Regions from separate parts of the Homo sapiens genome. Here all the other regions are linked to region 4. The links are contacts of gene promoters, found by promoter capture Hi-C in human tissues and cell types (Jung and others, 2019). All regions are on one chromosome and are shown on one strand. The core of a region is centred on a gene start or on the middle of the fragment in contact, and the rest is flanking DNA. Distances in the headings are between cores, read along the strand shown. Region 1 overlaps LOC105372666 (a long non-coding RNA gene). Region 2 holds the start of ZFP64 (ZFP64 zinc finger protein). Region 3 overlaps BCAS1-AS1 (BCAS1 antisense RNA 1). Region 4 holds the start of TSHZ2 (teashirt zinc finger homeobox 2). Region 5 overlaps LOC105372666 (a long non-coding RNA gene).

The links. Contacts are between HindIII fragments. The study calls those that stand out against the background at their distance.
Region 1: a contact is called between a fragment that was not itself captured here and the fragment with the promoter of TSHZ2 in region 4, in 1 of the 25 tissues and cell types used here (lymphoblastoid cells).
Region 2: the fragment with the promoter of ZFP64 here is called in contact with the fragment with the promoter of TSHZ2 in region 4 in 1 of the 25 tissues and cell types used here (heart right ventricle).
Region 3: a fragment that was not itself captured here is called in contact with the fragment with the promoter of TSHZ2 in region 4 in 1 of the 25 tissues and cell types used here (dorsolateral prefrontal cortex).
Region 5: a fragment that was not itself captured here is called in contact with the fragment with the promoter of TSHZ2 in region 4 in 2 of the 25 tissues and cell types used here (dorsolateral prefrontal cortex and mesenchymal stem cells).

What each region holds. Positions count from the first base shown.
Region 1 is chr20:52,262,501-52,265,200 of GRCh38, forward strand. The region is part of intron 2 of LOC105372666 (a long non-coding RNA gene); the gene reads left to right. Among named protein-coding and RNA genes, the nearest start is that of ZFP64, 72 kb to the left of the region's middle. The HindIII fragment of the contact is 6,105 bases long and covers 1-2,700 here.
Region 2 is chr20:52,190,412-52,193,144 of GRCh38, forward strand. It overlaps ZFP64 (ZFP64 zinc finger protein), which reads right to left and starts at 1,368. Exons shown (of 6, transcript NM_018197.3): 1 at 1,180-1,368. The coding sequence starts at 1,225. RefSeq lists enhancers at 223-1,079, 2,120-2,249 and silencers at 840-1,079, 1,440-1,709. The HindIII fragment of the contact is 31,514 bases long and covers 1-2,733 here.
Region 3 is chr20:53,933,667-53,936,366 of GRCh38, forward strand. The region is part of intron 1 of BCAS1-AS1 (BCAS1 antisense RNA 1); the gene reads left to right. Among named protein-coding and RNA genes, the nearest start is that of BCAS1-AS1, 20 kb to the left of the region's middle. RefSeq lists an enhancer at 1,346-1,847. The HindIII fragment of the contact is 4,234 bases long and covers 1-2,700 here.
Region 4 is chr20:52,970,921-52,973,620 of GRCh38, forward strand. TSHZ2 (teashirt zinc finger homeobox 2) reads left to right here and starts at 1,438. Exons shown (of 3, transcript NM_173485.6): 1 at 1,438-2,413. The coding sequence starts at 2,374. The HindIII fragment of the contact is 6,451 bases long and covers 1-2,700 here.
Region 5 is chr20:52,319,885-52,322,584 of GRCh38, forward strand. All of the region lies in intron 3 of LOC105372666 (a long non-coding RNA gene), which reads left to right. Among named protein-coding and RNA genes, the nearest start is that of ZFP64, 130 kb to the left of the region's middle. The HindIII fragment of the contact is 6,006 bases long and covers 1-2,700 here.

The DNA.
Region 1 (2,700 bases), core at 176-2,675, 710 kb before region 4:
ACCCTTCACCAAACATTTATTACCTACCAAGGACAGATGCCACCTCAATTTTGGAACACATAACTGAACTCATTCTCTAGTATGGGAAGCCAATATGTACCAAGAGCTTGTAGGACACATGGTAGGTGCCATCATAGAGGACACATGGTATAAAGGAGGGAGTAGGCAACATATATGGAAAAGGGGTGACTTCTAGGGAATGTTTCACAAAGCAGGACTTATTTGTGCTGGATCTAGAAGGATGAGTGGGAATTTGTCAGACTGTTCACAACAGGTGGTGTATTAGTCTGTTTTCATGCTGCTAATAAAGACATACCCAAGACTGGGTAATTTATACAGGAAAGAGGTTTAATGGACTCACAGTTCTACATGTCTTGGGGGCCTCACAATCATGGCAGAAGGCAAGGAAGAGCAAGTCATGTCTTACGTGGATGGCAGCAGGCAAAGGGAGAACTTGGGCAGGGAAACTTCCCCTTATAAAACCATCAGATCTCATGAGACTTCTTCACTATCATGAGAACTGCATGGAAAAGACCTGCCCCCATGACTCAGTTACCTCCCACTGGGACCCTCCCACAACATGGGAATTTTGGGAGCTACAATTCAAGATGAGATTTGGGTGGCGACACAGCTACACCATACAGGTGGGAAAGGGTGGAGGATGCCAGGCTGAGCATTTTCAGAGTCATAGGGGAGTGAAATAGCTCTAAGTGGCTTCAGATGAATGTAGGTGGGAGGTAGTCCAGGGCTGAATCTTGCATAAAGTTTTAAGGATGTTGGATTTTATCCTTCTGGCTTGGAGTGAACAAAGCGTTTCAAGCAGGGAAAAGGATCACTATCACACTGGTATTTTAGAATAATCTCTCCAGCAGTTGTGTAGGGAATTGATTCTAGAGAAGGGACACCAAAAACAAGGAAATTAGTCAGAATTCAGGTAAGAGAAGGTGGGAAGAGCAAGGAGGTAGAAAGGAATCAACGCGGTGGCCAATTGGGTGTGAGGGAAAGAGGTGAATTCAGGAGAGCTCTTGCTGCTCGGATCCGAGAGTGGCTTTAACCCATTGGGAAGGACAGGCTTATACATAGGAGAGAAACTTAAAATCTACATTGCAAAGAAGTGAGACCTTAGATTAATATCATACATGAAAATAACTGGTGGTCAGAAAGGAGGGATATTAACTCAAGAAAATTCATGAAAGAGGCAGAATGGGAGATGCACTTTCACTACCAGAGGTTGCAATTGATGGTGAACCAGAGACTTCAGTGCAGATATTGTGCCCACACTTTAACTTCTGTGTCCAGGGCTCAAACGATAATACTAGGATTCAATCTTTCTAAACTCTTACCCCCTCTCTCCCTTTTTCCCTATGGTGCTTTCACTCCCAGCCAGACATGGACTCTCTCCAGAGAAAAAGAAAAAAATAAAAAAGCTTCCCTTTTTCTGGAGAAAGGGGATCAGAGAGTCAGTTTTTGAGATGTTGCCAATTTGGAAGTATATTTATTCTATATTTCACAACTGAGCAATAATTTTAACTAGCTATGGAATTCTTGGTTGGAAAGAAGTACTTTTGCATTAGTATTTTGAAGAAATGTATTTATTGTCTTCAATTTCCAGCATAACTGTTATGATGTGTGATGATGCTACTATAAACCTTTTAAAAACATTTAACCCTCTGGAAAGTTTTTAAAATTTGAAATTTCATGATGATAGAAATAAATATGGGACTTTCCTCACTCACTGAGCTGGGTAATTGTTGGATTCTTGAAGCTAGTTTTCTTAGGTTTGGGAACATTTTCTTGGAAAATTTCTATGTTACTTTCCTTTTTTATTTTTAATTTTTGTTACTGTTATTTTCTAAAATTATTATTTGGGTGTTGTATCTTTACTTTTTCTTTTAATATTTTAGTCTTCCATTATTCATCTCTTTTTCCTCTGTTCTACTTTCTGGAAAAGTTCTCACCATCATCTTCCAAACTGTCTTTTGAACTTTCAAAAAGTGATTTGTTGTCCTTTGAATGTTCCTTCTTAGACATTTTATTCATGAATGTTCTATCTCTCTGAAGATGTTTAGCATTTTTTATTTTTTTTGTAATATCTTTGTTTCTTCCAAGTTGCTTTTTCCTACTGTTTTTCATCTCTGAATTTAATGTTAAGAGGTTTTGGTAAAAAACATGGTGATGTTGGCTGGGCATGGTGGCTCATGCCTGTAATCCCAGCACTTTGGAAGGCTGAGGTGGGCAGATTACTTGAGCTCAGGAGTTCAAGACCAGCCTGGGCAACAGGACGAAACCCGGTCTCTACAAAAAAAAAAAAAAAAAAAAATTAGGTGGGTGTGATGGCGCTCACCTGTAGTCCCAGCTACTTGGGAGGCTGAGGTGGGAGGATCACTTGAATCCAGTGGGCAGAGGTTACGGTGAACTGTGATTGTGCCACTGCACTCCAGCCTGGGTGACAGAGTGAGACCCTGTCTGAAATACATATGTATATGTATTAAAATCTATAGATACATGTACATGGTGTTGCTTGGATGCCCATTTGAATTTTGAAGTGAGGCACTGAAAAGCAGACTCAGTGATTTATGTCTGGATTGATCTTGTTGACTGGTTGACCTCTTTGTGGGAGCCCTAGGTGGTGACTTGCCTGCTTCACGGAGGGAGTCCAATATATCAGTGTCTGTAGATTTTATTTTTCTTTTGGGTAGG
Region 2 (2,733 bases), core at 118-2,617, 780 kb before region 4:
GGGTTTTCTCATCTGAAAAATGGGAGGAGAGGTTTCTAATCCATGGTTTTTGTTTGTTTTTAATTTCTCCAAGAAAAAACACGGGCTTGTTATGAGAATTAAATGGGATGGTGCTCGTACCAGCACAGTCCCCCCTCCCCGCCAGTCCCCCAGCATGTTACCTGCTGGGTTCTTACTGAGGTACACTATTTAAACATGGACATATCTGAGCCCCACCTAGGAGATACTGAGTCATAACAGGGTGGGGTGGGGAGGATGGTGTTTAGGAAAATCTGTGCTTTTCACAGTAATGCAAGGAATACACCGCCAAGTTTGGGACCCAGTGTCTCCCAAACTGTTAACAGTAGCAGCTAACAAGCTGGGAGCTTACTATGTGCCAGATTTTCTGCAAACCCCTGGTAGATGGGTTCTCAAACTTCATGTGCTTCAGAGTTGCCCAGGCAGCTACGAAGGACAGCGGATCCCCAGCCCCACCCCCGAGATTGAATGGGTGGGGCCCAGAAAGCTGTTTTAAAATACACGCTCTCGCTCCCAGGTGGCTGGTTGCACTCAGTCTCTGGACCACACTTTGGGAAACAATGCACCGGGAGAAACCAGGGACTTGAAAAACGCTGATGTCCTCCTCGGTTAAATAAAAACTGAACCCCAAACCCAAATAAAGCGACCACGGCCCCGTTTTCCATTCAGATCTCCACCCTTAATGAGGAAAAGGCTTTGCAATGAGCCGGCAGGACCTCGTGAGACCTGGTGATTCCCCCAATCTCCAGGCTCTAATTTTGAGCCACTGAGGCAGAAGTTTTCCCATCAGTGTTGCCCCGTTTACCCTAGATTCCTCCCTTTCTCCTGCCCGCCCCAAACTCCGCCTGATGGGGCGGGAATGCCCTTAGGGGGTGGCGATTGTCTGAACGGCGTGCCCTCCCCCACTGTTCCCTTCCAAGGGGTCTCGCAAGGCTGGAGAGCGCCCCCGGTCTTGCGCCAGGTCGGGTGCGCCCCCACCCCAAGCCCACTCCGGCGCCCCCTGCACAGCGCGCCCGCCGCGGTCCCCGAGACGCGGCTCCGAGCCGTCACCCCGATTTCGGGGCCCCGGGCCTGCTGGCTGCGTCGCAGACGTGCTTGGGCCCGGGCCCCGGAGCGCGCACTGGGCCCCGGAGCGCGCACTGCTCCCGGAAAAGCACTTACTTTGCACCGAGCCCGCGAAGCTCTCGCCCTCGCTGCTCGCGTTCATGGCCGCAGACTGGGAGGTCCCCGGCCGGCCGGGATGCCAAAGTGGGGGACGCTGATCTACATGGTGCAAGGACTTTTCCTTTTATTTTTCCACACCCCCCACCCTGCCTTCTCCCAACTCTGCGAGGCGGGGAGGACGGATGTAAAGCAAGCTGCACTTCCGCTGCCTAGAGGGCGCTGGCCGGGCCCGGCGCCCCAACCTGGCTTTGCAGCAGCGGCTCCCCGGGGAAGCGGCGGGCGAATCCCGAGGCCCAGGCCCGCGGAGCCCCCCAACGCCCCCGGGGAGCTGGATGGCCACGCGCGTCCCGGCGTGCTGGGCGACCGCGGGTGGCGAGGGATGCGCCCCTGCCCGCACTCTGCGTTCTCCGCGGACGCGATTGGCCTCCCCGGCTCGGGGCGCCTTTTGCACCTGCAACCCCAGGCGTTGGGCCCCCAGCGCGGCCGTGCAGCAGCGCTGCTCCCGGGACGCCTGGGTGGTTTGCGGGGAGACCCACGTGCGGCTGCCGTTGCGGGGTGGGTGCGCGGGGCGCGGCGAGCTCCGGAGAAACCCAGGTTGGGCGTGAGCGCTGGGCAAATCAGCAAAGCGCTGGGCGGGTCCCTTGCCCCGCTAGGGAGACTGAGAGGACCGCGAAGAGGTGGGGTCGTAGCGCGGAGGGACCCCTGCTCCAGGAGCTGCCAACTTTATCGTGCATCGCAGTCGCCTGAAAGGCTTGTTAGAACACACGCTGTTGGGCCCACCCTAGCGTTTCTGCTTCAGTAGGTCTGGGGCGAGGCGTGAGAACGAGCATTTCTAAGTTCCCAGGTGATGCCCCTAGTGTTGGTCGGCGTCCACACTCTGAGGACAGTGACCTCTCTGCTCTGTCCCTCATGTCTTACTACTACTGTCTCCCCCGGGCTCCTGCGTCAGCCCTATTGTCTCTCTGCCGACCCTCCCAAGCCTCAGACCTCTCCCAGCCTCGAGGGATTTGCCCATAGAGTCTGTCCTGCTTCTGAAGGTCAGCATTCAAATTCACACTCAGGGAGGCCATGCTTGGCCTAATCTAATCATTCTAATATTGCAGCCCCCTCCTCCTCCCCCAACCACTCCCTGTCTCCTTCCTGTTTTTTTCTTTTTCTTTTTCTTTTCTTTTCTTTTCTTTTCTTTTCTTTTCTTTTCTTTTCTTTTCTTTTCTTTTCTTTTCTTTCTTTCTCTCTCTCTGCCTCTCTCTCTTTCTCCCTTTCTTTTTTTAGAGAGGGGGTCTTTCTCTGTCTCTCAGGCTGGAAGAGTGGTCGGATCCTAGCTCATTGCAGCCTCCAACTCCTGGGCTCAAGCAATCCCCCCTACAGGCGTGGGCCACCACCCTGGCTCACTTTTTAATTTTTATTTTTGTAGAGATGTTGCCCAGGCTGGTCTCGAATTCCTGGCCTCAAGCGATCCTCCATCAGCCTCCCAAAGTGCTGGGGTTACAGGTGTAAGCCACCATGCCTGGCCTGCTTTGTCCTTAAAAGGTGTTAGATGGAACATATTAT
Region 3 (2,700 bases), core at 45-2,544, 960 kb after region 4:
TTAAGATAGAGGAAGTAGCTTTACCTAAGGTGAGTAGACCCTAGACAACTGGCAGAACGCTGGGCCAAAGGAAAGATATAGGGGGCAGGATGGCATTTTCTGCAGATAAATGACCCCAGAAATTCAGACACTGTGATATCCAATATTCACTTTATATCTCTCTTTATTGTGTTGTATTTCCCTTAAGTAAGTGAGGTTCAGAGAGGATAATCAGCTTGTCCAACATCAAACAGCCGGTCAGAGTGACAGGCTGACATTCAAACTCATGCCAGTAGACTCTAGATCCCACACCTTTCGCTGCTGAACTATATTAAAGATCAGAGGCTTTTAAAGTTTTCTTATTACAAATCATAATAAGAAATACATTTTGAGTCTATACACATACATTAGTAATCAAAACAAACCTTCCACTAATGGATGTTAACCATATTACCCGTGATGCACCATGAGCTTTCTGTTGTATTCTATTCTATTCCATTCTGTTCCATTCCATTTCATTTGCTGGATCAACATAAGTGGGTTGGGCCCTGGCTTCAAATAAAAACCACTGCTAAAGACAGGAACTTACCTTAAAGGTTAAAAAAAGTACATAACTCCGATTAGCCAAGAAAAACTCAGAAAGTGAGAAGGAAGGGCAAAAAAAAAAAAAAAAAAGTCACTTCTTTTTGTCTTTCAGGAATTTTAATAATAAAACAGCTTTGGATCACCTATTTTAGATTCTTCTAGTAGACAGCCCCCAGTAGATTCCTTAACTTTTCAAATGGCATTGAAAAAGCGAGGAAGTTATTTCACCTCTTTGGGAGGCTGTCTCAGTCCTCTCTATCCATTGGAGGGCAGGGCAGCCACTCAATAAGTGTCTGTTGCATGAGTCAAGTAAAGGATCAGACCGGGGTGTCTCAGAGCCTTCCCTGCTCTTCTATTCTCTGTTAAGCCACTGAATGAAGAAGGCTGCCACATTTTCCTCTGGGTCAATATCAACAGCAAAACAATATCCCAGAACGGTCATTTCTGGGACAATAAATAGTTTTCCAGAGCTGCTATCTTAGGCCTCTCTGCCACTAAGGGATTAAAGAGAAATGCACACCCCTCCAGAATTTCCTGTCCTGTCTTGCGGTTAACTTAAAACATTTTCAACTCCCGCCTCCCCCTTTCTCACCATCTCTCTTCATGGTTAAAGAGGTTATAAATTTGCAAAGGAAATGATTAAGCAAATCCAGAAAATTTGGCCATGGGACCTGATTTTTCAAGGCCTTAGTTTTTGAAAGCTGAAGAAATCTGTCCACTGAAGGATTTGCACATGAGTTTTTTAGTCTTAGGGCTGGGGCATAATTTCCTGTTTTTGTATTCTCAAAACTGTTAAGCTACTTGTGAACAACTGGCCAGCAAAGATAGGGAGGGGGCAGGGGATGCGGAGAGAGGGTTGTGAGCCCAGAGGGGAGGAGAAAGGCTGTTTCTCCTCAGTTCTCACAGAACCTCTATGAAAATAGAAAGATTTATTTATTTATTTACTTTAAAGACTGTGAAGTAGAGACAAGGGGTAGATTCTAGACATTGAAGTTGGAGGTGTGAGTGGTAAAGAGGAGAAGAAACATGTTTTAGCAGGAACTTGAATAAGCTGATTGAAACTCAAAGAACAGTCTGTTTCCATAAGCATGAACATTTCTTAGACACTCATTTTGTGCTTTGCATGGAATACATCGTTAAATCCCCACAGCAACTCAGTGAGGTGGATTCTACTAGTGTCTCCACTTTATGGATGTGAAAGTGAAGCTGGAAGAAGTTAAGGAACCTGCTCAAAGCCACGTGGCTAGCAAGTAGCACCACTGGGATTGCAACCAAGGCTGTTTGGACCCAGAGCCTGTGTTCATAGCTACTGCTCTCTTCTGAAGATAAAGGAGGAGACAAGGATGTCAGCATGACCATAGCATACATGTTCATTTATTTAGAGCCAGGGAAGGGGGTGGGACACTAATCAAGGTTGCCCCTTCCCTTCACTTCCCTTCCCTTCCCTTCCCTTCCCTTCCCTCCCCTCCCTTCTCCTCCCCTCCCCTCCCCTTCCCTTCCCTTTTTTCTCCTCTTAAAGCCACCAACTGTGCTAGGTATTTGTATGTTTACTCTCAGATCATTTTTCCAAGCTTCTCTTCAAACTGCATTTCCCAGGTTCCATTACCAACTGGCTTCTGGTTAAGTTCAGCCAGTGGGCGGCACTGACACGTATTTTTCCTGCCTCCTCCCTCCAGTCAACAAAAAGGTACTGCTTGCAGAAGCCTCCATTGGGTTCCAGCTACCCTCAAGCAGCCTCACCCCCATCCACATGGGGTTCTATTTCCCACAGGGTGCCGGGTTCCCTAGCTCCAGAAGCATCACCTCTTCCCTTTGGCTGTGTGTCTCTAGTGGTGGTTCTTTTTGTAGCCTATTTCTATTTCTTTCTTTCTTTTTTTTTTTAAATTATACTTTAAGTTTTAGGGTACATGTGCACAATGTGCAGGTTAGTTACATAGGTATACATGTGCCATGTTCTATTTCTAATCTCCGGGTGGGCCTCACGGCCCCATGGTTGTCTTTTCAACTCTTCCAGTACCTTTAAAACTAGCACCCATATTAATGTCCTTCTATTCAGCTCCTTGTCATGGGATAGAGGTTCCCGAGAAAACCCTAAGACACAGATCACAGATTTTTCTTTTTTTTTTTTGGAACAAA
Region 4 (2,700 bases), core at 188-2,687:
ATCCATGTAACCGAAAACCACTTTTACCCCTAAAGCTATTGAAATAAAAAAAATAATAAAGCAAAAAAAAACACCTCTAGTCCCAGCCTGCATCAAATGCCCTCAGTTGCTTTGCCCTCTCACTGGAAGGAGCACTCCTTGAGGGCATGGTCTAGGTTCACCTTGTTCACAGACTTGCCCCCAACACCTCAAAAGGTGCCTGGCCGATAGCAGAACTCAATAATCACATGTTTGTTTCAATCTCTCTGTGCTCAAATGCCATATCCTACATTGAATCTAGAGCCACCCACCCCCTTTTAGACACTATTACAGCACTCAGCTTAACGTCTTCATGGAGCGAATCACTCAAAGTATCCTGTTTATTTGCTTGCTTACTTTTCATTCATTCAACAAATATTTTACTGGGCACTTATTATATGTCTTGTGCTTTGCCAGCACTTGGGGATATAAGAGAACAAAGAGGCAAAAATCCTTCCTTCCATTGGAGCTTACATTCAAGAGGGGAACTTGTACAATCAACAGAATAGAAAACTGTCTATAACCTGTGTGACACTCACTGATCAGCTCACTGGGGAATAACAAAATGGAGAAATGGGGCAGGGAGTGTGTGTGTGTGTGTGTGTGTGTATTTTAGGTGAGGTAGACCTTTGGGAAAAGGGGACATTTAAGCAAAGATTGGATAGCTGGGGGGCACTTGTCTGCACTCCCCCATTAGAATATAAATACCAACATGGCCACCACCTTCCCTTTCTCTGTGGCCTCTGTGTCTCCAGAATAGGCACATAGTAGATGCTCAATAAACATTCTTCAAAGGAAACAAAAAGAGGAGTATATGATTAGACCTTAAAGTAGACAGAAGGGAGATTTTTGTTTTTGTGACCACCCATTGATTAGCGAGAAAGTGGGAGGGACAGGGGCACTAAATTGAAGGGGTCGTGGGGAGCACATTTTGGTGGGGGCAGGTTAAGACTTACAGGATGGAGATCCTCACTGGATAAGGTCCCCTCCCCCTTCCCAGCCCCGAGCAAACCTAAGTTCTCCCTCTCCTAAGATTGTGCATGGTCCCTGCTGGTCAGCCAACCTGGCCCCCCTGAATCTCCCTCCACAGCCTCCCAGCTTCAGAGTTCAGCCATCATCACACTGCCTCCTTTTCTCCCGCACCCCTTCCCTCCTCACCTCCTTTCCTCCCGCCCCCGCCCCTTCCGCCTCCCGGAGGGGTGTCCCCGCGCCCGGTGGGCACGCCCTCGCCCCGGCGGAGAGGGCGCACAGAGGGGCCTGGGCCGGCGCGCCGGGGCCCCCGCCCCCAGCCCCTCTCCCCTGCGGGACGCTGTCCCTTTAATAGGCTCCCGCTGCCTGGCGCTCTGCGGCTGGGGAGTAAATTTCTCCCTGTCATCAGGTCGCGGGGAGAGGAGGAGGAGGAGGAGTTTGTTAATGTTCAGTTTGTTCAGCGGGATCGATGTTTGCTGGCATCGCCTCGCCCTGTCTTGTGTGTGTGTGCGAGGGTGTGTGTGTGTGTTTGTGTGTGTGTGCATATGTGGGGGGTGTGAGTGTGTGTGTGCGAGGAAGCGGGGGTGCGTGCGCGTGTGAGTGCGTGTGTGAGTGTCTGTGTGTGTGTCTGTGTGTGTGTGTGAGTGAGTGAATTCCAGATTTTCTGTCTTTCCAAAACCCGCTCCTGTCCTCTCGCATATCACTCACAGACGGGGATCTGACAGCAGCCACAAACCTACAGTGAGTGATCGCTCTCCCCCCGGCACGAATCCGCCATAGAGATCGGCGAGGAGGAGGAGGAGGAGGAGGAAGAAAAGAAGGAGGAGGTGGAGGAGGAGGTGGAGGAGGAGGAGGAGGAGGGAAAGAGGAGAAGGAAGAAGAAGAAAAAGAAGAAACCCACTACCTTCCCAGGATTGCCTTTTTTTTTTCCTTATCTTTACGCGCGAGTGTGCCTGTGGCGCGTGTGCGCCCCTCGTCCCTTCCATCCGAACCCGGGCTTGGATGTTTAATAAAGAAATCAAGTGTCTCAACAGTCACCAAAAAAAAAAAAAACCGCAAAAACAAAACCAAAAAAATTCCAAAAGCAAAAACAAAAAAGAGAGAGGAAAAAAAATTCAAAATAAACAAACAAACAAACAAGGCAGAACCAACCTCTACTTCAAAGCAGCCGGCACAAGCCACCCGTGTCTGCCACCCAGAGAGGGGGGTCTCTGGCCCGTGGTGGAGGAGTTGCAGGGGGGATCGTCAGGGGGACAGAGGCCGAGTGACGTCCTAGGAGCCACCGGGCAAGAGGCGGAGGAGACCCAGAGAGGCCAGAGAGACAGCGGGCCCCAGCGCGCGGCTCGGGGCTGGGGCGCCAGAAGTGGGACTGGAGCGAAGTAGAGGATGCCGAGGAGAAAACAGCAGGCACCCAAGCGGGCGGCAGGTAAGAGAAACGGCTCCGCTTCGGGGCTGCCCTGTGCGCCGAGCTCCTCGCCCGCCCTCCTTGCCCCTGGGTGCCCGGGGGCACCACCCACTTAAGCTTTCGGGGGAGTTTGCGCCGGGTGCCCTTCTAATAACCCCGTCCTCTCTCGCCTTCTCTGGTCTCCCAAATCCTCCCCTTCCAAGCTCCGGTTGGGTTGGGGTGAGCTATCCCACCAAGCCTTTCCTCCTTAAACTTTCTTTCCTCCACCCTCTACCCCACCCCTAACTTTCTTCCAGTCTGTTTCTTGC
Region 5 (2,700 bases), core at 143-2,642, 650 kb before region 4:
ATATAGAACATGACAAAAGTGGGGGCCAGTCGCAGTGGCTCACGCCTGTAATCCCAGCACTTTGGGAGGCCAAGGCAGGTGGATCACTTGAGTTTAGGAGTTCGAGACCAGCCTACCAACATGGTGAAACCCTGTCTCTACTAAAAATACAAAAATTAGCTGGGCATTTTGGTGCATGCCTGTAATCCCAGCTACTCGGGAGGCCGAGGCAGGAGAATCACTTGAACCCCGAAGGTGGAGGTTGTAGTGAGATGGGATCGTACCACTGCACTCCAGCCTGGGCGACAGAGCAAGACTCTGTCAAAAAAAAAAAAACCATCCTCTCCAAAAATCCCCATAAACTCCCACTTTTCTGTCTTTAAGATGAAGGACACCATGCTAGGCATTTAGGACTTGGTTTGGTTGACACTATGGGAATTAATCTGCCAATCTCTGAACTTCTTGACCACAACATCTCTGTTGCTACACCTCAGCCCTGTTGTTTGAAAGCAGCCATGAACAAGGCATAAACGAATGGGTGTGGCTCTGTTCCAATAAAACTTTACTTATAAAACCAGGCAGATGTGGCCCACCGGTCCTAGTTTGCTGACTACTGCCATATAAGATCAAAATATGCTCATTCCCCCTTCTAGTGTCATCTTCCACCTTGTATTAGTCCATTCTTGCATTGCTATAAAGAAATACTGAAGGCCGGGTGTGGTGGCTCATGCCTGTAATCCCAGCACTTTGGAAGGCCAAGGCGGGTGGGTTACCTGAGGTCAGGAGTTTGAGACCAGCCTGGCCAACATGGTGAAACTCGGTCTCTACTAAAAATACACAGAACAATTAGCTGTGCATGGTGGTGTGCACCTGTAATCCCAGCTACTCAGGAGGCTGAGGCAGCAGAGTTGCTTGAACCTGGGAGGTTGCAATGAGCTAAGATTGCACCACTGCACTCCATCCTGGGTGACAGAATGAGACTCCATCTCAAAAAAAAAATATTAACAAAATATTATATATTTTATGTACTAAGCCTTTCAAATCTGATGTATATTCTGTACTTGCAGTGTTTCTAGATTTTTGGACTAGTCACCTGTCAGATCCTCACTGGCCATGGTGACTACCATATTGGACAGCACAGGACTATAGAGTTTGAGCTTTTGAAGGACAAGGACAGGTTGATGTCCTGGTGACTGACTCATAAGCATTTCTTCAGTGGTGGCTAACTACCTATCTTTGGCCAACCTTCCTTGTGTTTCAGTCTGCCAAAGTTTTGGGATAAACCATCACTGTCAAAATTTATTGGTACTCAAGGGAAAATCAAGCTTTTTGTGGCATCACACAACATCATAAATTAAAACATATGCTTTAAAAAATTATGATGTTACATCATGCTTTGAGGTAATGTAATGTGACAGATTGTAATTTTTATTTTTGTAAGATTTCCTCAGTGTAAAGCAGGAAGTGGATTTGAGAAGGTTTGCAGTACCCAGGACCTCTGAATCAGGACCACATTTCCAGGCTGCCACAGTGTTGGTGCTTGGTACATCAGGCAGCGGTCTCTGCTGGGTCCTTAGTCTTCTTTTCTGTGACCCTCCTGTGGTTCATTTGGATTCTATGTTTATCCTAAGAATCTCCCAGGGATCAAGAGGGTTCTTTGCAACCTAATTCACTCTACTGGGCTATATGATTTTGGAACTAGAGTTTCCATTGGTTTATGTAGAATGACTGGCAAATTTTGTCTCAAATGCAAATTAGATTGGTTTTTAATGGTTGTCTGGGGTCTTAATGCTAAGAAAACTTCTGAGGATGCCTCTGCATTCATGTAAGAGATGACGTTAGTCAACCAGCAGTGTTTGCCATGGGCTTGCAAAGGGGTAGAGGCCGTTTATACAATATGTATTTGACCATCCTGACCTAAGTGTCTGTTTCTTGCTTCTTGGATGGGCACGTAATGGGAGTTTCTTTAATTGGGCTAGGAACAGTGTCAAAGGAAGGGCAGGGGTCCTATACATGGGTTGAACTTAGTGGCCAGTTTACCCAAGGCAGTTTGGGTGAGTGAAAGGCCCCAGCTGTGGTCAGTGCCTAGCAGAGCTTGTTGTATGGGAAGCAATGCCTAGTGCTAGGTTCAAATGTTGAGGCCAGGATAAACGTTAAGTCTGGAAGCCAGCAGGAATAAGGGAAGACTAGAATAAGTTATATAAAATAACAGGAGTAAGCAATTCTGACTGGAGGAAAGCTGGCAAAGCAATGGGTTTCATCTCATGGTAATCCAAATTGCTTAGTAGTGTCTGCCAAGAGCTCTGTGTTGGAGGGCTTCTGGATTGTGCCAGGGACTGGGGAGGCAGGAAGTCATGATTGATTGGTAATGTCTGCCATGAGTGTGGGAGCTACGCAGGACAGTACACATGCTACATATTTGCAATCCCTGATTTAGAGGCATGGTTATGCTGGAGTTCACACAGAGAGAGAGAGAGAGGCATGGTTGATTGGTAATGTCTGCCATGGATTTTGGAGTTATGCAGGATGGCACACATGCTACACATTTGCAATCCCTGATTTAGAATCATGGTTACAGTGATGGCTTAAGAAAATTCCCTGGTTGTCTTTGACATACGCATATTTTGTTTTCTCACCTAATATTTATTTTTTCACTTAATAATTGACCATTAGTTGTCTCGATCTGTGTTGGGGTTTAGTCATATTCATTGAACTATAATA